Regions from separate parts of the Homo sapiens genome. Here regions 1, 2, 4, 5, 6 and 7 are each linked to region 3. The links are contacts of gene promoters, found by promoter capture Hi-C in blood cells and fetal thymus (Javierre and others, 2016). All regions are on one chromosome and are shown on one strand. The core of a region is centred on a gene start or on the middle of the fragment in contact, and the rest is flanking DNA. Distances in the headings are between cores, read along the strand shown. Region 1 has its middle 5.4 kb from the start of ZNF404. Region 2 overlaps ZNF283 (zinc finger protein 283). Region 3 holds the start of ZNF229 (zinc finger protein 229). Region 4 overlaps ZNF45 (zinc finger protein 45). Region 5 holds the start of ZNF283 (zinc finger protein 283). Region 6 overlaps ZNF45-AS1 (ZNF45 antisense RNA 1). Region 7 has its middle 16 kb from the start of ZNF404.

The links. Contacts are between HindIII fragments. The CHiCAGO score rates a contact against its expected background, and 5 or more counts as called.
Region 1: a contact is called between a fragment that was not itself captured here and the fragment with the promoter of ZNF229 in region 3, in 11 of 17 cell types (total CD8 T cells, M0 macrophages, M1 macrophages and 8 more). The highest score is 8.3, in total CD8 T cells.
Region 2: a contact is called between a fragment that was not itself captured here and the fragment with the promoter of ZNF229 in region 3, in 6 of 17 cell types (M2 macrophages, erythroblasts, M0 macrophages and 3 more). The highest score is 10.9, in M2 macrophages.
Region 4: a contact is called between a fragment that was not itself captured here and the fragment with the promoter of ZNF229 in region 3, in 8 of 17 cell types (M2 macrophages, naive B cells, megakaryocytes and 5 more). The highest score is 8.8, in M2 macrophages.
Region 5: the fragment with the promoter of ZNF283 here is called in contact with the fragment with the promoter of ZNF229 in region 3 in 9 of 17 cell types (erythroblasts, M2 macrophages, naive CD8 T cells and 6 more); the score reaches 16.4 in erythroblasts.
Region 6: a fragment that was not itself captured here is called in contact with the fragment with the promoter of ZNF229 in region 3 in 4 of 17 cell types (M0 macrophages, M2 macrophages, total B cells and 1 more); the score reaches 8.5 in M0 macrophages.
Region 7: a contact is called between a fragment that was not itself captured here and the fragment with the promoter of ZNF229 in region 3, in 7 of 17 cell types (M0 macrophages, M2 macrophages, M1 macrophages and 4 more). The highest score is 9.9, in M0 macrophages.

Annotation. Positions count from the first base shown.
Region 1 is chr19:43,887,963-43,890,836 of GRCh38, forward strand. No RefSeq gene overlaps it. Among named protein-coding and RNA genes, the nearest start is that of ZNF404, 5.4 kb to the left of the region's middle. The HindIII fragment of the contact is 966 bases long and covers 1,091-2,056 here.
Region 2 is chr19:43,845,702-43,848,654 of GRCh38, forward strand. ZNF283 (zinc finger protein 283) reads left to right here. Exons shown (of 7, transcript NM_181845.2): 7 at 1,238-2,953. The coding sequence ends at 2,940. Among named protein-coding and RNA genes, the nearest start is that of ZNF283, 20 kb to the left of the region's middle. The HindIII fragment of the contact is 2,596 bases long and covers 178-2,773 here.
Region 3 is chr19:44,446,922-44,449,946 of GRCh38, forward strand. ZNF229 (zinc finger protein 229) reads right to left here and starts at 1,551. Exons shown (of 6, transcript NM_014518.4): 1 at 1,388-1,551; 2 at 592-679. The HindIII fragment of the contact is 11,359 bases long and covers 1-3,025 here.
Region 4 is chr19:43,922,925-43,926,043 of GRCh38, forward strand. It overlaps ZNF45 (zinc finger protein 45), which reads right to left. Exons shown (of 10, transcript NM_003425.4): 4 at 2,401-2,534; 5 at 1,478-1,637; 6 at 1,314-1,386. ZNF45-AS1 (ZNF45 antisense RNA 1) reads left to right here. Exons shown (of 3, transcript NR_184050.1): 2 at 2,218-2,330. Among named protein-coding and RNA genes, the nearest start is that of ZNF45, 11 kb to the right of the region's middle. The HindIII fragment of the contact is 2,032 bases long and covers 541-2,572 here.
Region 5 is chr19:43,826,015-43,828,974 of GRCh38, forward strand. It overlaps ZNF283 (zinc finger protein 283), which reads left to right and starts at 1,307. Exons shown (of 7, transcript NM_181845.2): 1 at 1,307-1,430; 2 at 2,188-2,267. RefSeq lists an enhancer at 1,165-1,364. The HindIII fragment of the contact is 6,325 bases long and covers 1-2,960 here.
Region 6 is chr19:43,905,958-43,908,889 of GRCh38, forward strand. All of the region lies in intron 1 of ZNF45-AS1 (ZNF45 antisense RNA 1), which reads left to right. Among named protein-coding and RNA genes, the nearest start is that of ZNF45-AS1, 5.6 kb to the left of the region's middle. The HindIII fragment of the contact is 2,882 bases long and covers 1-2,834 here.
Region 7 is chr19:43,866,834-43,869,858 of GRCh38, forward strand. No RefSeq gene overlaps it. Among named protein-coding and RNA genes, the nearest start is that of ZNF404, 16 kb to the right of the region's middle. The HindIII fragment of the contact is 1,628 bases long and covers 503-2,130 here.

The sequences.
Region 1 (2,874 bases), core at 324-2,823, 560 kb before region 3:
AATCACATGAATTTTTTGGTTTCCCAGTGCATAGAAAAGATATGTTTATACTGTATTATTCAGTGTGTAATAGCATTATCCCTAAAAAATACGGTGCATACCTTAATTTAAATATACTTCATTGCTAAAAAATGCTAATGGTCATCTGAGCCTTCAGAGAGTCATAATCTTTTTGCTGGTGGAAGGTATTGCCTTGATGTTGATGGCTGCTGACTGATCAGGGTTGCTGAAGGGTGGGATGGCTATGACAGTTTCTTAAAAGAAGACAATAATGGGCCAGGTGCGGTGGCTCATGCCTGTAATCCCAGCATTTTGAGAAGCTGAGGTGGGTGGATCACAAGGTCAAGAGATCGAGACAATTCTAGCCAACATGGTGAAACTCTGTCTCTACTACAAATACAAACATTAGCTGGGCATGGTGGTACGCACCTGTAGTCCCAGCTACTCGCTCGGCAGGCTGAGGCAGAAGAAGCGCTTGAACCCAGGAGGCAGAGGTTGCAGTGAGCCGAGATCGCTCCACTGCACTCCAGCCTGGGTGACAGAGCGAGACTCTGTCTCAAAAAAAAAAAGGCAATAATGAAGTTTGCCACATCAATTGACTCTTCCTTTCACAAGAGATTTCTCTGTAGCATGTGATGCTGTTTGATAGCATTTTACCCACAGGGGATCTTTTTTCAAAATTGGGGTCAATCTTTTCCAACCCTGGTGCTGCTTTATCAACTAAGCTTGTGTACTATTCAAAATTGTTTGTTTTTATTTCAACAACATTCACAGCATTTTCACCAGGAGTAGATTCCATCTCAAGAAACCACTTTAATTGCTCATCTGTAAGAAGCAGCTCCTCATCCATTAAAGTTTTATCATGAGATTGCAGAAATTCAGCCACATCTTCAGGCTCCATGTCTAATTCTAGTTCTCTTGCTATTTTTGCCACATCTGCAGTTACTTCCTCTACTCAAGTCTTGAACCCCTCAAAGTTATCTGTGAGGGTTGGAATCAACTTCTTCCAAACTCCTGTTAAACATTTTGACCTCCTTCTATGAATCAGGAGTGTTCTTAATGGCATCTAGAATGTTAAATCCATTCCAGAAGCTTTTCAATTCACTTTGCCTAGATCCATTAGAGAAATCACAATCTATGGCAGCTAGAGTTTTATGAAATGTATTTCTTAAAAAATGAAACTTGAAAGTTGAAATTATTCCTTGATCCATGGGCTGCAGGGTGGATGTTGTGTTAGTAGGCATGAAAGCAAAATTAATCTTTTCCATACATCCCCAACAGAGCTCCTGGATGACCAGGTGGAACGTCAATCGGCAGTAATATTTTGAAAGGAGTCTTTTTTTTCCTTTCTGAGCATTGGGTCTCAACAGTGGGTTTAAAATATTGAGTAAGCCATGCCATAAACAGATGTGCTGTCATTCAGGCTTTGTTGTCCCATTTCTAGAGCACAGGCAGAGTAGATTTAGCACAATTCTTAAGGGCGCTAGAATTTTCAGAATAGTGAATGAGTATCACCTTCAACTTATAGTCACCAGCTGCATTAGCCTCTAATAAGAGAGTCAGCCTGTCCTTTGAAGCCAGGCATTGACTTCTCTCTAGCTATGAAAGTCCTAGATGGTATCTTCTTCCAACAGAAGACTGTTTTGTCTACATGGAAAATCTTTTGTTTAATGTAGCCACCTTCATCAATAATCTTAGCTAGATCTTCTGGACAACTGGCTGCAGCGTATATATCAGCATTTGCTGCTTCACCTTGCACTGTTATGTTATGGAGATGACTTTTTTCCTTAAACCTCATGAACCAACCTCTGCTAGCATCCAACCTTTCTTCTGTAGCTTCCTCATGTCTCTCAGACTTCACAAAATTGAAGACAGTTAGGTCTTTGCTCTGGCTTTGGCTTAAGGGAATTTTGTGGCTGGCTTGATCTTCTATGTGGACCACTAATCTTTCTCTGTATTGCAGTATCTCCATATGACTCGAGAAGCACTTTTCATTTCCTTCAAGAACTTTTCCTTTGCATTCACAACTAGGCTAACTGTTTGGCACAAGAGGTCAAGCTTTTGGCCCGTCTTGGCTTTTGACATGCCTTCCTCACTAAGCTTAATCACTTCTAGCTTTTGATTAAAAGTGAGAAACAGAGGACTCTTCCTTTCATTTGAACACTTAGAGGCTATTGTAGGGCTACTAACTGGCCTGATTTCAATATTGTTGTGTTTCAGGAAAACAAAGAGAGGAAGAGAGACAGGAATAGCTGGTCGGTGGAGCAGTCAGAAGACACATAACATATATTCATTCAGTTCACCGTCTTATATGGGTGTGGCTCACGGTGTCCCAAAGCAATTACAACAGTAACACCAAGGACCCTGATCACAGATCACCATAAAAATAATGGAAAAGTTTTAAATATTGCTAGAATTACAAAATGTGACAAAGAGACACAGAATGAGCACATGCTGTTGAAAAACAGAGACAATATACTTGCTGAATGCAGGGTTACCACAAATCTCAATTTGTAAAAATTGCAATATTTGCAAAGTGCAATAAAGCAACATGCAATAAAATGAGATGTGCCTGTGTAAAAGGCATACTTCTAAATAGTTACTGGTCAAATAATAAATCAATGGAAGCTAGAAAATATTTTGAGTTAAATGATAGTGAAAGTAAGATATATCAAAGCTTGTGAGACGCAGGTAAACCAATGCTTATGAAGATATAAGCTTTAAATATATGTTTTGTCAAAACAGAAAGGTTGAAAATCAGTGATATACATCAAGAAGCTTGAAAAGGAAAAGCAAATTAAACCTATAGAAAGTATAACATACCAAAAGTAACCAATAACACAAAAAACCCCAGATATACAATAAAGAAAAATC
Region 2 (2,953 bases), core at 226-2,725, 600 kb before region 3:
CCTCATATAGAGTGGACAGTTTACTCCAAGATCATCATTTTCCCTTAGCTAGCAGTCTTTTCTATCATATCATACTTATGTCACTTTTTTCATACATTATATGACATAGCATTTCCCATATGCATTTAAACCTGCTAATATTGTCAATATACCATGCTGAATGACACTATAATTTAAAGCTTTATTTTCAATTTTAAAATATAATTAACAGTATTAATGTGTTATAAGATGATGTGTGTATCACATTGATTTTTGACAGGGTAGTTTGAGCTTAGTTGAGTGAAAATATGTTTAACAATGGTCAAGAAATAAGTAAACTTAATTGAAAAATAACTCAAAATATTTGTTCTTCCTCTTTTATGAATATCTTCTTAGGAACTTTTTATGCAACCAGAAATTATTTATTAGTAACTCTCAAGATCATTTTGTCTAAGTGAATTGGAGATCTTATAATTTAAAGTGATCCTTAAATAGCAATACAATTACTGTTGATTTTTAAAATTGATAGACATTTAAAATTTTTAAATAAGGTAAAATCTATAGAGTCACATAATTGCAGCATTATATGAAGTTATAAAAATCAATCCTTTTATAAAAATTCTGGCTAATAAATCTAAGTAAATGTAAAATTTAATTGAACTTTATATTTTTACAATTGTGAACATTTATGAAAGCAATGTTTGCTTTATCTCAGGGGTTGGAAAACTCTGGCTCTGGAGGCCAAATCCACCTGTTTTTGCAAATAAAGTTGTATTGGAACATAGTCTTGCCCATTTGTTTATATGTTTACATATTGCCCATGGCTGCCTTGATAAAATGGCAGAGTTGCGACCATTGAGTTGTTAGACAAAAGAGTTGTTAGACAAAACAAAATCAGCCAAAGCTCATTATGATAAGAATTTGATTCCCATTAAGATACATTGGATGACCACAACTGGGCACATAAGGGCTTGATTGATGGAAGCTGACATTTGGTTTGAGGGAACATCAGCGTGGGAAAATGAGGGACTTGTTGAAGCGACCTCTGTGGAATCCTCCAGAAAACTATAAAATCAGAACATTCAGATCACAAGAGCTGCAAAATCAAGGCTGAGTTTGTTATTTAACAAGGGAGTGCCTTAATGCCAAGGAGTGAGTTCAGTAAGTCTCCTAATTTGTCTTTTATTTCTACTGTAGTTTTTTTTTTTTTTTCCCTAGTGAAGGAAATAAAATGTGTGGTTTTCTTGTTTTCTTTCAGATTTGGAGTCAAAAACGTATGAGACCAAAAAAATATTTTCAGAAAATGATATTTTTGAAATAAATTTTTCCCAGTGGGAGATGAAGGACAAAAGTAAAACCCTTGGCCTTGAGGCATCCATCTTCAGAAATAATTGGAAGTGCAAAAGCATATTCGAGGGACTAAAAGGACATCAAGAGGGATACTTCAGTCAAATGATAATCAGCTATGAAAAAATACCTTCTTACAGAAAAAGTAAATCTCTTACTCCACATCAAAGAATTCATAATACAGAGAAATCCTATGTTTGTAAGGAATGTGGGAAGGCTTGCAGTCATGGCTCAAAACTTGTTCAACATGAGAGAACTCATACAGCTGAAAAACACTTTGAATGTAAAGAATGTGGGAAGAATTATTTAAGTGCCTATCAACTCAATGTGCATCAGAGATTTCATACTGGTGAGAAACCCTATGAGTGTAAGGAATGTGGGAAGACCTTTAGCTGGGGATCAAGCCTTGTTAAACATGAGAGAATTCACACTGGTGAGAAACCCTATGAATGTAAAGAATGTGGGAAGGCCTTTAGTCGTGGCTATCACCTTACCCAACATCAGAAAATTCATACTGGTGTGAAATCTTATAAATGTAAGGAATGTGGGAAGGCCTTTTTTTGGGGCTCAAGCCTTGCTAAACATGAGATAATTCATACAGGTGAGAAACCTTATAAATGTAAAGAATGTGGGAAGGCCTTCAGTCGTGGCTATCAGCTTACTCAGCATCAGAAAATCCATACTGGTAAGAAACCTTATGAATGTAAAATATGTGGAAAGGCTTTTTGTTGGGGCTATCAACTTACTCGACATCAGATATTTCATACTGGTGAGAAACCCTATGAATGCAAGGAATGTGGGAAGGCTTTTAATTGCGGATCAAGTCTTATTCAACATGAAAGAATTCATACTGGTGAGAAACCTTATGAATGTAAAGAATGTGGAAAGGCCTTTAGTCGTGGCTATCACCTTTCTCAACATCAGAAAATCCATACTGGTGAGAAACCTTTTGAATGTAAGGAATGTGGGAAGGCCTTTAGTTGGGGTTCAAGCCTTGTTAAACATGAGAGAGTTCATACTGGTGAGAAATCCCATGAATGTAAAGAATGCGGAAAGACCTTTTGTAGTGGGTATCAACTTACTCGACATCAGGTATTTCACACTGGTGAGAAACCCTATGAATGTAAGGAATGTGGGAAGGCTTTTAATTGTGGATCAAGCCTTGTTCAACATGAAAGAATCCATACAGGGGAGAAACCCTATGAATGTAAAGAATGTGGGAAGGCTTTTAGTCGTGGCTATCACCTTACTCAACATCAGAAAATTCATACCGGTGAGAAACCTTTCAAATGTAAGGAATGTGGGAAGGCCTTCAGTTGGGGTTCAAGCCTAGTTAAGCATGAGAGAGTCCATACTAATGAGAAGTCTTATGAATGTAAAGACTGTGGGAAGGCCTTTGGTAGTGGCTATCAACTTAGTGTTCATCAGAGATTTCATACTGGTGAGAAGCTTTATCAACGTAAGGAATTCGGGAAGACCTTTACTTGTGGCTCAAAACTTGTTCATGAGAGAACTCATAGTAATGATAAACCCTACAAATATAACGAATGTGGGGAAGCCTTTCTGTGGACAACTTACTCAAATGAGAAAATTGATACTGATGAAACCTTATGATTGAAAGTTGTAA
Region 3 (3,025 bases), core at 301-2,800:
CTCTAAGAGCTGCCTGACAAATAAATCAGCTGTGAAAAAAGCTGGGATGAGACAAGTCCAGAAGGAAGCATAAGCGCAAAGACCTGGTTTCTGTTTAGAAGGTCTCCTGGCCAGGTCTTACCTGTTAAGTTTTTTTAACTTTTTAAACCTTAGCAACTCATCTGTGACATGGGGATAATAGCTAACATACAAACTTGCTCAGAAAATTCAATAGAAATACATTCATTTATTCAAATATTTATTGGCAAGCCTGGCACTGTCCTAGACACCATGGATAAATAATACCTGGCATATAGTAAGCACTCAGTTAATATACACCATCACAGTTACTCTAATTATTTCTACCCTGCGTTTCTTCAGCATGGCGCTGAAACAGTGTAAGCCTTTACTGACCCAGTGACACACTACTAGGAGCCAAGAAGAGAATACACTAAATAAAGACACTGGGAAATTCCTCAAACCTCCCCCATTTCTAGGGGAAGGCAGGTGTGGCTAAGGGGTCTGAATGAACATTTGTGATATCAATGGGATGAAGAATGAGGTCACCAAGAGACCTGGCATTGCCACAAAAGAGAACCAAAGTTCACTCACCTGGAGCTCTAGTGTCAAGAGATGTGGGGTTATTTCTCCTTCTTTTATACAATTATCTCCGAGAAACGAACAATTCCAAGAAGGAAGCCTGTGAAAGAAAAATGAACAGCAGGATAACATGATTTAATCCCAATTCCCACCACGCCACAGGGGGAAATCTCTCAGTGCCAGCTGGATGTAATCTACCCCTTCCTGTAATCTACCCTCGCTACTTGCTTCAGGAGCCGAGGAAAAGAACCTCTCTTCCTACAGGACTCAGAGTACAAGGGACACGCCATTCCTGATGCCCAAAGAAACCGTCTACAAGCCTACTTTCACTGCCCCTTTCAGGAGACAAGGAGAATCAAGACAAAATCTCAAGATTTTAATCCAGAGCTGACTGTCACATGCTGTGGGACACTTACAAGTGAAATTCTGCCTGTGTGTGCTTAGGCGGCTACAAAAAGCAGAGCCAGCAACGATACAGCAAACCAACTCCTAGGACTTGCACAGCGCTTAATACATTTCAAAGGATAAAATTAGAACACAGGGAATCAACTTCCTGTTTACAGAAATGACTTCGCAGAAAACTCTGAAATTACTCCACAAGTGGGTGGGCGGCTACCCTGAGAAAATTCATGTCATCGATCCGCAACTGACACAGTGGAGTCTCCCGCACTGCAGATCTCATCTCAAAGCCAGAGCTGGCCTCAAACTGCTTTTCCAAGCCTGGACTGCGAGGGCTGCCGACCCGGGCCCACCCCGCACAGGCGCTCAGAATGTTCGATACGTGCGCCTCCTTACACCCCTGCCTCACCAGGCCGAGCTCATGGAAATCCGTGGGCTTCGACCCTCCGCCGCACGTTGTCCCTTCACACTGGTCCTATAGAGCCGATCCTAATTCCCATGGCCTGACAGTACAACCGCATGGAGATGCACGTCTCTAAGACGCCTCACCACTGCCTAAGAAGCAATCAAGGTGACGCGCCCACCGGAAACGGAAGTAGTCGACTCGAGGTGTGGGACTACCTTTCCCAGAACCCTCCGCAGCGCAGTCCGATCCTAGGGGCGATGGTGTCGTAAATGCGCGTCCACCTCGAGTCACGCCCACTGCGAGGCGGCGGGAGGCGGCATGCAAGGTGTTTCTGAGTTGAAAAGAATGTCTTTACTCAGTACTAACATATTCGCGTTGTAGCAAACCTGACTATATTCTCAAACAAGCCCATCATCCCATCACCAGGGATATAAAGCATTATTGATTTTCTGGTGTAAAAGCCAACTAAATATTTATTTCAAAAGTAGTTCATATTACATGTAAAGAATGGTTTAAAAAAAATTCTTACTTAATCCCTGGTTTATGTGAGTAAATATGAATTCTTAAGAATCCCATTTCCCAAATGGCATCATAATATTTTGTAATCATTTCTTGCCACAGGTCATATATCGTGGATAGTTCTGTATGTCACAAAAGACGTAGAGATACATAGAGATAATAAAAAAACACAAATTATTTGCAATACTTGCCTAGCATTCTTTAGTTTTTAGGGAAGTTACCCCTTTGTCCTGCATTGAACTTACACTTCTAATTTTATGATATCAAAACTACACACAATCACTTTCTTTAATATTTTCCCAATTTGATGGACTAAATATCCTGTCTTATTTTCCCAATTTGACAGAGTAAATATGCTTATTACCGATTGCATTTCATTGTCATCTTTTATTGTCATACACTCTCTGTGTATGAATGATATCGCTTCTAAGTGATGAATTGCTCCCCCAGTTTCAACATTTATAAAGTAGTTTAGAAAAAAAAAAAAACAAAAAACTTCATCTGACAAGGTATATCAGTCTTTTCATTTGTGGCTTCTTTTTTTTCTCCAGTATGACCAAAAAGACATTCCTTAGCCTGATTCCCAATAAGTGCATATCTATATTCATTTCAGGCTCTTTCATTTTTCTTTTGAATCACCGCGTGATTCATTTAAGTGTATGATATGAAAGGAAGATGGAGTTTCCTGTTTCACCAAAGGATTGTCTACTTTTCTTAACAAAATTTACATAAATATTAATTCTTTCCTTTCTGATTTAAACGGCATCCTAATCACTTACTACATTACTATATATATAATGAAATATTTTCTGGGATACAAGTGTGTTCTGAAGATAGAGATTGCTTTTTCTGTGCCATGATGAAAGGTTTCAGTTACAGTGATAACTCATTTCCTTATCTCTCCCTCCTTGTTGTGTTTCAAAAATTTCATCCTAGAAGTTCTAGAACTCTCTCTTATAAACAGATTATCGAATTGTTTTGATAAATTCTAAAAAATTGCCAATTGACTCCAAAGCATCCAAGCCCTTCAGATATTTGGTTCCAAACCCACCCCTCTTTGCTTGGGTAGACACAGTCCTACTTCCCATCCTGTGTCCTCCAGTTTTACAAATGTCTGAATTT
Region 4 (3,119 bases), core at 307-2,806, 520 kb before region 3:
AAGCGATCCTCCCACCTCAGCCTCCCAAGTAGCTGGGACCACAGGTGTGCACCACAATGTCCAGCTAATTTTTTTACTTTTTGTAGAGACGAGGTCATGCTATGTTGCCCGAGCCAGTCTCAAACTCCTGAGCTCAAGTGATCCTCCTGCCTCAGCCTCCCAAAGTGCTGGGATTACAGGTGTGAGCCACCACACTCAGCTGATGAATTCTTTAGTAGAGGTTTTTTAACCTCTACTTTAACCTCGCCTTTAACCTCTGAAATACCTGTTATTCTCTCTTGGTTTCCCATACTTAATTTGAGGCTTTTGCAATAGTATTTAAGATTACAGTGGTCCTTCCTATCCATAGTTTTGCTTTCTGTGGTTTCAGTTACCTGAAGTCAACTATGGCCCAAAAATAGGTGAGTACAGTGCAGTAAGATATTCTGAGAGAGAGAGAGAGACCATGTTTATAGAACTTTTGTTACAGTATTTTATCATTATTCTATTTTATTATAAGTTATTGTTGTTAGTCTCTTACTGTGCCTAATTTATAAATTAAGCTTTATCATAAGTATGTAGGTAAAGGAAAAACATAGTATATTTAGGGTTCAGTAATATCTGAGGTTTAAGTCATTCACTGGGGGACTTGGAAGGTATCTGCTGTGGATAAGGGGGGACTACTGTACATAGATGACTGCTTTTTTTGATAGTAAAATATGTAACATAAAATTTACCATTTTAACCATTTTTTAAGTGGTTACATTCAGTAAGTACATTTACATTGTTGTGCAGCCATCACCACTATCCATCATCAGAATTTTTTATGTACCCATTAAGTAATAATTCCCCATTCCCCCTCCCAGCCCCTGATAACCACGTTATCTCTATGAATTTGACTATATGGACTGGTTTCTAAAAGGTATAAGACCTTGCAAAATTTGGCTGTGTAGAGTGGCTCATGCCTGTAATCCTAGCACTCTGGGAGGCCAAAGTGGGAGGACTGCTTGAGGCCAAGAGTTCAAGACCAACCTGGCCAACAGAGTGATCTCTAAAGAGAAAAAAAAAAAATCTAAAAAAAAAAAAAAAGACCTTGCAAAATTTACTTTAACAGTAGGGCCTTAAAAAGACTATCATAGAGACAGAGAAAATTTAATAAAAAATCATGACTCTGCAAGATTTATGCAACTATAAATTAGATAATGTCACTGAAATTAACAAGCTATAGGAAGCACAATAATAACAACAAAAATGGTGATATTTAACTAAATACATATTAGGGACCTTATGAAGAACTTGGCACATGATGTTTCATTAAGGTACTTCACACATACCTGTGAAGAAGCTACTGTTGTATCAGTTGTGTGACCTTGGTCCAAACACCTAAACTTCTGTGCCTATGCTCAGCTATAAGAAGGGAAATGAAAACAGGATGTTAATCATAGGATTACTGTGAGGAATCAATGAGTGAATTTATGCAATGCCCTTGGCATAGTACCTGGCATTTTAGGGAGTTCTCAACAGATGATAATGACGACAATTGTATCCATTTAACAGGCGAGGAAGCTGAGGCTTGGTGAGGTCAAGAGGCAGGAACAGTACCTGAATCCAGCTTTCATACCAGAGCCAGTATTCTAAATCTTGTCTCTCTGTTGCTTCTAAAGACAAAAATAAGCAGATGGGAGTCTAAGATCTCATGGAAGGAGAAATGAGGGCTCCAGAGTTAGGGGTAAAAGACAGACACAGAAATGGAGATTGGACTCTGAAGCCAAGGGAGCTGCTTGAGGGAGTAGAGAACAGAGTTGTGAACAGTCTAGACTCCAGAACCAGCCCACCAGTACTGGAATACAGGCATGTCCAACTTGCTAGTACTTTGTGCTCTAATGTCTAATCTATAAACTGGATGTAATAATAATACCTACTTCATAGGAAGGTCAGTGAAAGTGACTAAGTATACACAAAACATGTGGAACAGTTTCTGGCAGCTTAAACAATCAATAGAAGTTACACATAAACCCATGCAGATGCTTTACATGAAACAGTCAGGGAGCCCCTCCCTTGCTGCTGTGGACCAATGTCTGTGTCCCCTCAAAATTCTTATGTTGAAGCCCTAATGTGATGTTATTGGGAGGTGGGGCCTTTAGGAGGTAATTAGGTCATGAGGGTGAAGCCTCCATAATGGGATTGCTTTCCTTGTAAGAAAAGCAAGTAACCTAGCTCTTTCTCTCTTCCTCCCAGGAAGATACAAGACAACAGCTTCTGCGAACCAGTAAGAGTGGCCTCATTAGACATTGGATTTGCCAGTGACTTGATCATGGACTTCCCAGTCTCCAGGACTGTGAGTTATAAAGGTTTGTTGTTTAAGCCACCCAGCCTATGGTATTGTTTGTTATAGCAGCACAAATGGACTAAGGCACTCACGGAGTCTGCAGCTTCACATGGCTTGATGATGGGGAAACATGGGCTGGATTCCAGATTCCACTTGACCCTTCAGCAGAGAGCCTCTGCACAGTGAAAAATGGAGTTCTTGTAGCTCTCAGGGTATGATTCTGATTCTATGGAGGGTGGAAACGAGTAAAATACCCAGATTAAAAGCTTAGTATTAGTTAATTACTGCTTGATTTATTAGTAAATTATTCTTAGTTCTCTTACTTCAGATAGAAGAACCCTTACTATTGAAAAGGGAAACATAAAACCTTCCAATCTTAGAAGAAATACTTATTTATTTATTTTTCTGAAATGGAGTCTTGCGCTGTGGCCCAGGCTGGAGTGCAGTGGAATGATCTCAGCTTACTGCAACCTCAGCCTTCCGGGTTCAAAAGATTATCCTGCCTCAGCCTCCCCAGTAGCTGGATTATGGGCACCCGCCACCATTCCTGGCTAATTTTTTTTGTTTCTTTTGTTTTTTTAGTACAGATGAGGTTTCACTATTTTGGCCAGGCTGGTCTCGACCTCCTGACCTCAAGTGATCCACCCGCCTTGGCCTCCCAAAGTGCTGGGATTATAGGCGTAAGCCACCACACCCAGCCTGAAATACTCTTTTAGAATTTGTAATTCACTTTGTTCTAACTCTATATTTGCCCAGCAACCTCTGCTCAGTAAGAATGTTTTGCAGGGGATATATTTCCATCGCCTCGGGA
Region 5 (2,960 bases), core at 57-2,556, 620 kb before region 3:
CCACCAGTGGTTTTGGAGGTGGAGCAGATGCTGATGATAATGAAGTCCCAGATGGGAAACGGGGATGGGTGCCGAGGAAAGCTCAAGGACCCTGCAGATGAGGACTCAGACCCACGATACTGGATGAGGCATCCATGTCACCATGGGAGTCAACCAGGGTAGTGGCCTCAGCTGAGGCAGGGGAAAAGCTGGGATCCAAGAGCTCTAGTCTTCTCTTGATAAGCAAGAGAGACCAGGAGGTGAGAGATGGCAGAGGATGAGAGAGGTGATATCAGTGACCAGAAAGAGCCCCTAAAAAGTAACTTCCTTTTCTTTCTGTTAGTTTTAATATAAAATTTCGCTTTAATATTTTTAGACAATTCTTTTTTAAAAAAGTATTTATATCCAAAGGTTCTTACCACACCAACCACAGCCCCAATCTTTTTGCCCTAACCTCAGAATCAGTTAGTTGTCTCCTTTAAAACCTTTCTCTCTCTCACACACCCACACACACACACACGCAAACACACAGGAGAGAGAGAGAGGGAATATATAGTATTGTTTTTGGAGTATGAGTGTGTGCTTCAGAATAAATGGTTTCATACTCTATAAAAAATGAGATTCAAATTTTATAATCCATCAAGTTTTATTGGAACACAGCCATGCTGGATTGCTTGTGCATTGTTTATGGCCGCCTTTGCACTGCCATAAGTCTCCACGGTCACAATATCCACTCACTACCACTTATTGTTGTCTTTCAACAGCGGCATATAAAATCTGTAACACAGTTCATCTCACACCTAATAAAACAGACTCACACAGGCATAAATTTAGAAAACATCCCATGAACATAAACAGGTCCACGCAGGGTCCCAGACACCGAATCGAACTAAGAAACTCCCTCACAGCAAGACACACCCATCTGTTCAATTGCCAGACACTGTTCCAGGCGCTCATACCCAGGTAAACTGGTAGTGTCGCGCAGGTCATTTCCAGCGAACTTACCCCGGATTCCCTTGCTCGCTCACGTCTAAGTCCCCAGACACCCCAGTCCCATCTTCGCCTGTTCTAGACTCCAGAATGCGTTCCTTAGCGAAAGCTGAGAACCTTTTAATTCGCTCTCAGTCAACACCAAAGACCCTCAAGCAAAAGCAAGAGCTCCCGGGCGTCTTCGAAAAAAGCGCCTTTGACAGGTGAAGCCAAGTTGCATGCTGGGAGCATCCCTGCTGTCCAGGTTTCAACTTCCGGAGACTCTGCCGCTGTGGACTACATTTCCCAGAAGTCTCCGGGGCACAGGCCTTTTAGGGGCGGGGCGAGCTTGCCTGCCAGAAGCTCCTCTCCCAGCCTGCGAGCATTTCCAGGCTCTTGTTTCCCATCAGCCTCTGGGTCCAAACTAACCACAGGTCTCTGGGTCCTTTTCCGGTGTCCTTAAGGTTCTTGGACTCTGCATGGTGAGTTGGTCGTGTCTGTAGAAGTAATCAGCCCGGGTGAAGCTGGGAGGGCTCGGCTGGCTTTACTGGGGCCCGACTGGAACCGGCAGTGAGGGTGGGGGTGGCATCGGGGGTGCTGGAGGTGGGGAGGGCTGGGTCACGGACAGAGCGTGTCGTGTCCGGATCCTCAAGCCTGTGTGCACGCGAGCAGCCGAGGGACAGTGTGTCTCAGACGGCGTGGCAGGGACGGGGCGTGTCCCCACGGAGGTGGGTGCAGTTGTGAATGTGTGACGGGCTGACAGGGTGCGTGGCCGTATTTGTAAATGTGATTTGCTTTGACCAAATGCTCTAGGTTCCCTTTAGCCTGTCTTCGGGCCTGCCACAATTAAATGACCGCAAGAAAGAAGTCTATGCTAAGCCCCATAATGAACGTTTCAAGCAAGAAGGATGAGAATTTTAGATCTGGAAGTGTCCGCGGGACAGGATCTTGTCAAGACCTGATGGGGAAGTTCTAGAGGTGGGATTCCTAGAAGAGGGGCCTCTAGGAGCTCTTTGGTGGTGAGCTACATGTTTCAGAGCCATTGCAAGCAGACCTCTGTCCCCAAGAATTGCCCTCAACACAGAGACAGACTCTAGCCTCCCTTTTCATTCCGTTTGGTTTTGTGTGGATGAAGGCAGAAGTGGCCCCAGAGGGTGTTTTGCTCTTCTTTTTCTTTTTTAATTAAGTCTGTGACGCGCTAGAAATGCTGATGTCTCATGTTACTGTTTTTTCCCCCAGTGCTGCCAGGTTGCCAGATTTCTAAGAAGGAGTTTGAAGAGGAGAAAAGGATTTTTGCATGTTTAGAAATCAAGGTTCAGGTGAGGTTTTTTATACATACTTTTTAAATACATACACATACAATTACCTTTGCTTCTAGGTCATGAGAACATTTTCTTTCCTTGGCCTGAAATATCTTGACTGGGTTTTCCCAGTTACATGACCCGCCATGCTGGTACATATTTCCTCCCAGTGGCCCCCTATTGTTCTTCTCCACAATTCTTACCCACCTGTTCATATGGCAAATTGTTCAAATACTTCAGTGCATTATGATGCACTGAAGAGTTATAGAAAGGCACCTCTTGTAGATTGCTATTAGAGCATTATTTTATACTATGATTATTTGAAGAGATTAGTAATTAGGTGGTGTTATATAAACATTATTTTTTATCTTTTCTGTAGTCATAATTAAAATTTTTTTTTAACTTTTTTTAGAGACAAGGTCTCACTCTGTTGCCCAGGCTGAGTGCAGTAGTATAGTCATAGCTCAGTGCAACCTTGAAGTCCTGGGCTCAGGTGTTCCTCTGGCCTTGGCGTCCCAAAGTGCTGGGACTGCAGGTGTGAGCCACCATGCCTGGCCCATAGTCATGATGCTTAAAGAAAGGCAAGGTATAAGGGATTTTAAGTAAGGGAATGTTTCTGGCAGTAAATGACAATGTTGTCTGCTTTGTGAGGCTTTTAGGGGTGGAAATATGATTGAGCTTTGAACATAGGGATTTGTAATTTGCACCAAC
Region 6 (2,932 bases), core at 144-2,643, 540 kb before region 3:
TAGGCAGAAGGAAACAAAAAAAAGAGAGAAATCCATGAAATGTGCACACCTGTTCATGATAAAAAACACATTCAACAAATTAGAAATGGAAGGGAACTTCTTCAACATACCACCTATAAAACACCCACAGCCAATATCATACTTAATGGTGAAAGACAGAGTACTTTCTAAGATCAGGGACAAGACAAAGATGTGCACTCTCACCACTTTTTTTTTTTTTTTTTTTTTTTGAGACAGGAGTCTTGCCCTGTTGCCCAGGCTGGAGTACAGTGGCGCGATCTCAGCTCACGGCAACCTCCGCCTTCCGTGTTCAAGGGATTCCCCTGCCTCAGCCTCCTAGTAGCTGGAATTAAAGGCACCTACCACCACGCCCGTCTAATTTTTGTATTTTTAGTAGAGATGGGGTTTCACCATGTTGCCCAGGCTGGTCTTGAACTCCTGACCTCAAGTGATCTCCCTGCCTCAGTCTCTCAAAGTGCTGGAATTACAGGCATGAGCCACCACGCCCAGCCAACTCTCACCACTTCTATTTGATACATGCTGGAGGTTCTAGCCAGGGCAACTAGGCAAATAAATGAAATAAGAGACATCCATATGGAAATGAAGAAGTACAATGAAGAAGTAAAGCTATATTTGCAGATATGATTTTATATACATAAAGTCCTAAGGAAATCACAAAAAACTAATAAGACTAGTAAATGAGTTCAGCAAAGTTACAGGAAGATCAATATGCAAAAAAATTGTGTTCTTACACACTAGCAATGAATAATCAAAAAATGAAAGTAGGAAAACAATTCCATTTACAACAGAATTTGAAGAAAATACTTAAGGAATAAAGTTAACAAATGAAGAGGAAAGTTTGTACACTGAAAATTATAAAACATCATTGAAAGAAATTAAAGACGACCTAAATAAAAGGAAAGACATCTGTGGTTCATGGATAAGAAAAGTTAATATTGTTAAGATGCCAATACCTCCCAAATTGACCTATGGATTCAATGCAGTCCTTAACAATATCCTAGCTGGCTCCCCCCTCCCAACCCCACTGCCTCTAGAAATTGACCAGCTGATCCTAAATTCATATGGAGACACAAGGGACCCAAAATAACCAAAACAACTTTAGAAAGGAAGAACAAAGTTGGAGGACTCGCATTTCCCAATTTCAAAAGTTACTGGAAAACTACAGTGTGGTACTGGCACAAGGGTAGACATAGAGATGAGTGGAATAGATTTAAAAGTCCAGAAGTAAGTCTTGACACTGTCGATTCATTTTCAATAAGGGTGCTACGGCCATTTAGTAGGGGAAAGAATAGTCTTCTCAACAAATTATGGTAAGACAACTGGATATCTGTCTGCAAAGAAAGAATGAAGTTGGAATTCTACTTTATACCATACACAAAAATTAACTCACATCACTGACCTAAATCCTATAGGAGCTAACACTATAAAACTCTTCAAAGACAACACAGGGGCAAATCTTCATGAGCTTGGAATAGGCAATGATATTTTGGATACACCAAAAGCATAAGCAAAACAATAAATAGGAGTATATCAAAATTCAAACTTTTTACTGCAAATGATACCATCAAGAAAGTGACAAGATACCCACTGAATGGGAGACAATATTTGCCCATCATACATATGACAATGGACTTGTATCTAGAATACAAAAACTCTTAGAACTCAACAATAAAAAAAAAATGGATAATCCAATTTCTGGAAGTCAGTCAGATTTCTGGGATGATCACTCCCATCCTCACAACAACAACAACAACAAAAAAAACTAAAGAAATTAATTTTTTCTGGATCTGTCAGATAATAGAGGTCACAAGGCAAACCACCAGCCTTAAATCTGGAGAGACAAGCAAACGGAGATCAGCTTACTTGGAGCAGAAGGACCAAGGTAAGACCATTTAGGCGGGGAAAGAATATTGGTAACTAAGTGTTACCAATAACACTGCTAATTAAGTATTACCAGCTAATTGGTAATATTTACTAGCAGTGTAATTAAGTATTACCAGCTAATTGGTAACTAAGTGTTGGTAACTAAGTGTTACCAATTAGTTGATAACAAGTAATTAGCAATGCTATTGGTAGGAGCGCTTAATTGGTAATTTAGAGAATTCATTGGAGGCTAGCTTCAAAAATCTTCCAGGGACGCAGTCTTAGGGGGAGCCTCACACTTTCATGGAATTTACGTCCAGTAATGCTACTAGGTTCTCATGGTGAATTTACAAGAAAAATCTCATGTTTTGGAGGAGGACAAAAGTAACTATTTTGAAATACACTGAGAGTGTTCCACATAACAAAGGACTGCTATCCAAGGGAAATGACTTTATCAGATACTTATATAACTGGGGAGAAAGGCAATATGTCAACTCGCCTTCCTGTCTTACCTAAGGGGAAAACAGAAAGACTAAGAACTGCGTCTGAAGATCACAGGCCAGGGACTCAGGCCCACTAAAAGACAGATTAAATCATATGATTGTAGAACACTTCCCCTCTCCCCACACTTTACCACCATATCAATAGGATTCTTGTATAACAACAGGATAATAAAAGTGAGAAGGCTGCAAGACACAGATTCTATTTTTAAAGTTCTTAGGGAAATTCAAAGACAACAGGGAAGGAAAAAGAAGGGACACTACAGAAAGGTAAAACTGAAACCTCTGACACCTTCAGCTAAATCAAACATTAAACACAGCCCAACACCTAGCCAGATTAACATAAAACCTCACACTTAACTGAAGCTCCCACATTGCCTGCTATATAGCTGTCTACAGCTGTGTATTCTCCTGTCCTGCACAATGTAATCACACTCTGCAAGAAGCTAAAGCTTACTGGCAGGCCCTTACTTATCTAGGTATATCCAAACTCTGATGAATGACGGCACACAGGGACCTACCATTGCCAATGACCTACTCTTCTGCAT
Region 7 (3,025 bases), core at 67-2,566, 580 kb before region 3:
CTTTGTTTACCTAATCAAGCCTGGGCAATGGCAGGCGCCCCTCCCCCAGCCTCGCTGCCGCCTTGCAGTTTGATCTCAGACTGCTGTGCTAGCAATCAGCGAGACTCCGTGGGTGTAGGACCCTCCGAGCCAGGTGCGGGATATAATCTCGTGGTGCGCCGTTTTTTTAAGCCCGCCGGAAAAGCGCAGTATTCGGGTGGGAGTGACCCGATTTTCCAGGTGCCATCCGTCACTCCGTTCTTTGACTTGGAAAGGGAACTCCCTGACCCCTTGCACTTCCCAAGTGAGGCATTGCCTCGCCCTGCTTCTGCTCCCGCACGGTGCGCGCACCCACTGACCTGCGCCCACTGTCTGGCACTCCCTAGTGGGATGAACCCGGTACCTCAGATGGAAATGCAGAAATCACCGTCTTCTGCGACGCTCACGCTGGGAGCGGTAGACCGGAGCTGTTCCTATTCGGCCATCTTCAAAACTTTGGGATATTTAGCTTACCTTGTTTCAAAGCTTAATATAAAGCTATTTCATAGAGTGTAGTATTTGTATAAGGAAAGTTAAATATATCAGTGTAACAGAAGACAGGCTCCAGAAATAATTCCAAATATATACAACCAATTGATTTATAAGAGTCACCTATGCAAATCAATGAGGGAAATAATTTTTTATCTTAAAAAATCTATTTGGAGAGATTTTATAATAAAAAAATTCCTGCAAACTATTCAAAAATCCATCAATAGAAGAACAGATGAATAAACTATGGTATATTCATACCTTGAATATTACTAAATAGTAAAAAGCTATAAACTACTAATCTAAGGAATAACATAGCAGAATCTCAAATTTTTCTATTGAATGAAAGAATTAAGGAATAGTAGTATTCATAATGTATGATTCCATTTACATGAAGATCAAGATAAGGTAAAACACATTAATTGTAATAGAAATCAGAACAACAGTAGCCTTAGGAGAATGAAAGATAAGAAGCAAGAGAGAACTTTTAGGAATGATGGAAATGTTCTGTAAGTGTCTTCCTGTTGCAGATACTCTGAATTTTTGATGAGTTGGGGATGAGTCCTTACGTGGAAACATTCATGGAAAGTATTAGCTCTGGGTTTTTTTTTTTGTTTTATTTTTTGTTTTTGACAAGAGCTCACTCTGTTGCCCAGGTTGGAGGGCAGTGGCACCATTTCGGCTCACTGCAACCTCCGCCTCCCAAGTTCAAGCAATTCTTGTGCTTCGGCCTCCTGAGGAGCTGGGATTACAGGCATGCATCACTGCACCAGGCTAATTTTTGTATTTCTAGTAACGTCGGGGTTTTGCCATGTTGGCCGGGCCAAGAACTCCTGGCCTCAAGTGATCCGCCTGCCTCAGCCTTCCAAATGCTGAGATTACAGGTGTGAGCCATTGTGCCCTGCCTTGATGTATTTATTTGAATACTTCAAAAAGAAGAAGAGTTACAGTGATACTAAGGAAATAATTATTAGTAATTAAATGGAAATACTTAGTACTTTATAATTAAATTATTATTCTAGGTTGAAAAGTAAGTATGGACAAAATTTAAAATTTAAAATAAATGAAGGCATATTACACAGAATTGAGTGGAGACCAGTACTATGGTCAGAATTGTAAAAAATGAGCCTGGAAGATAATATACTATGAATTTCATGATGAATGTCAATTGCAATTTGCTGTGAGAGAGCAAAAAAAAAAAGCTGTTTATTACATAACAAATTAAATTGTTAAAGAGAAAAATATTGTGAAACATTTTCAGCAAATACATAGTAAATTTGATGAGACGTTTTCTCTTGAGAAGCAAAATGGAATAGATGAAGTTAGTTGCCTGAAATTAGAATTAAATGTCCAACCAAAATATTTAAACAATTTTTAAACAGAATCTGAGTTTATAACCTTTTTGAGCTATAAAATGGCTCTGATTCTTGCACAAAAAAGAAATGTTGGATATAGAGATAAGATAAATTATTAGTTTGGTTGCAAAAATCTTGTTAGCATATTCTGAGAAAGACTAAAATGATCTTATAAAAAGTAAAAAAAAATTAAGTCACCTAAAAACTGCTCATAGAATACAAGATATTTCTAACAATATCATGGATCAATTAATTCAAAGTTAGCAAAAGCTTCAAGTACTCTTCTTTAGCCATATATGAGTTGTGCAATATAAGATAATTTAGCCCAATTGATACTGTGGGTACATTTTGTCTCAAAAGATCCCCAAATAAAAAAAGCTGTCAATTCGCAGCCTACAAAACCAGAGTCATGACATAGATATTTTTGTCTTTTATATCTGTCAAAGAAAAATTTCTGTTAGGTATCAAAAAATATTTCTATCACAATAGATGATACACCAGCTGTATTAGGTTAAAAATCTGAATTCCTTGGAATTTTAATGCAAGAGACTGATGTCTCCCTAACTGCTTTGCTCTACTGTATAAAGAATATACCTATGAAGTATATACATGTAAATATTATGAATCACGACTACTTCATGGAACTGTTAAAAGAAATAGAGGTCAGGCTTGGTGGCTGACGCCTGTAATCCCAGCATTTTGGGAGGCTGAGGGGGGCGATCATGAGGTCAGCAGATCAAGCCCATCCTGGCTAACACGGTGAAACCCCGTCTCTACTAAAACTACAAAAAATTAGCCAGGTGTGGTGGTGGGCACCTGTAGTCCCAGCTACTCGGGAGGCTGAGGAGAATGGCATGAACCTGGGAGGCGGAGCTTGCAGTGAGCCGAGATCGCGCCACTGCACTCCAGCCTAGGTGATAGAGTGAGACTCCGTCTCAAAAAAACATAACAAAACAAAACAAAAAAGAAATAGAGAACAATTAATCTTATGTTCTTTCCCAATGCTCATCTGTTTAATGGTGTAAGACATTTACAAAGATTTCTCGTACTTTGAACTCCAGTTCAAGATTTTCTTTAAAGAAAGTTTTCCAAATATTTAATAATAAAGGAAAAAGAAGACAGTGATTTTTTTTCTCACCAGTATCACATTGCATATGAATAAG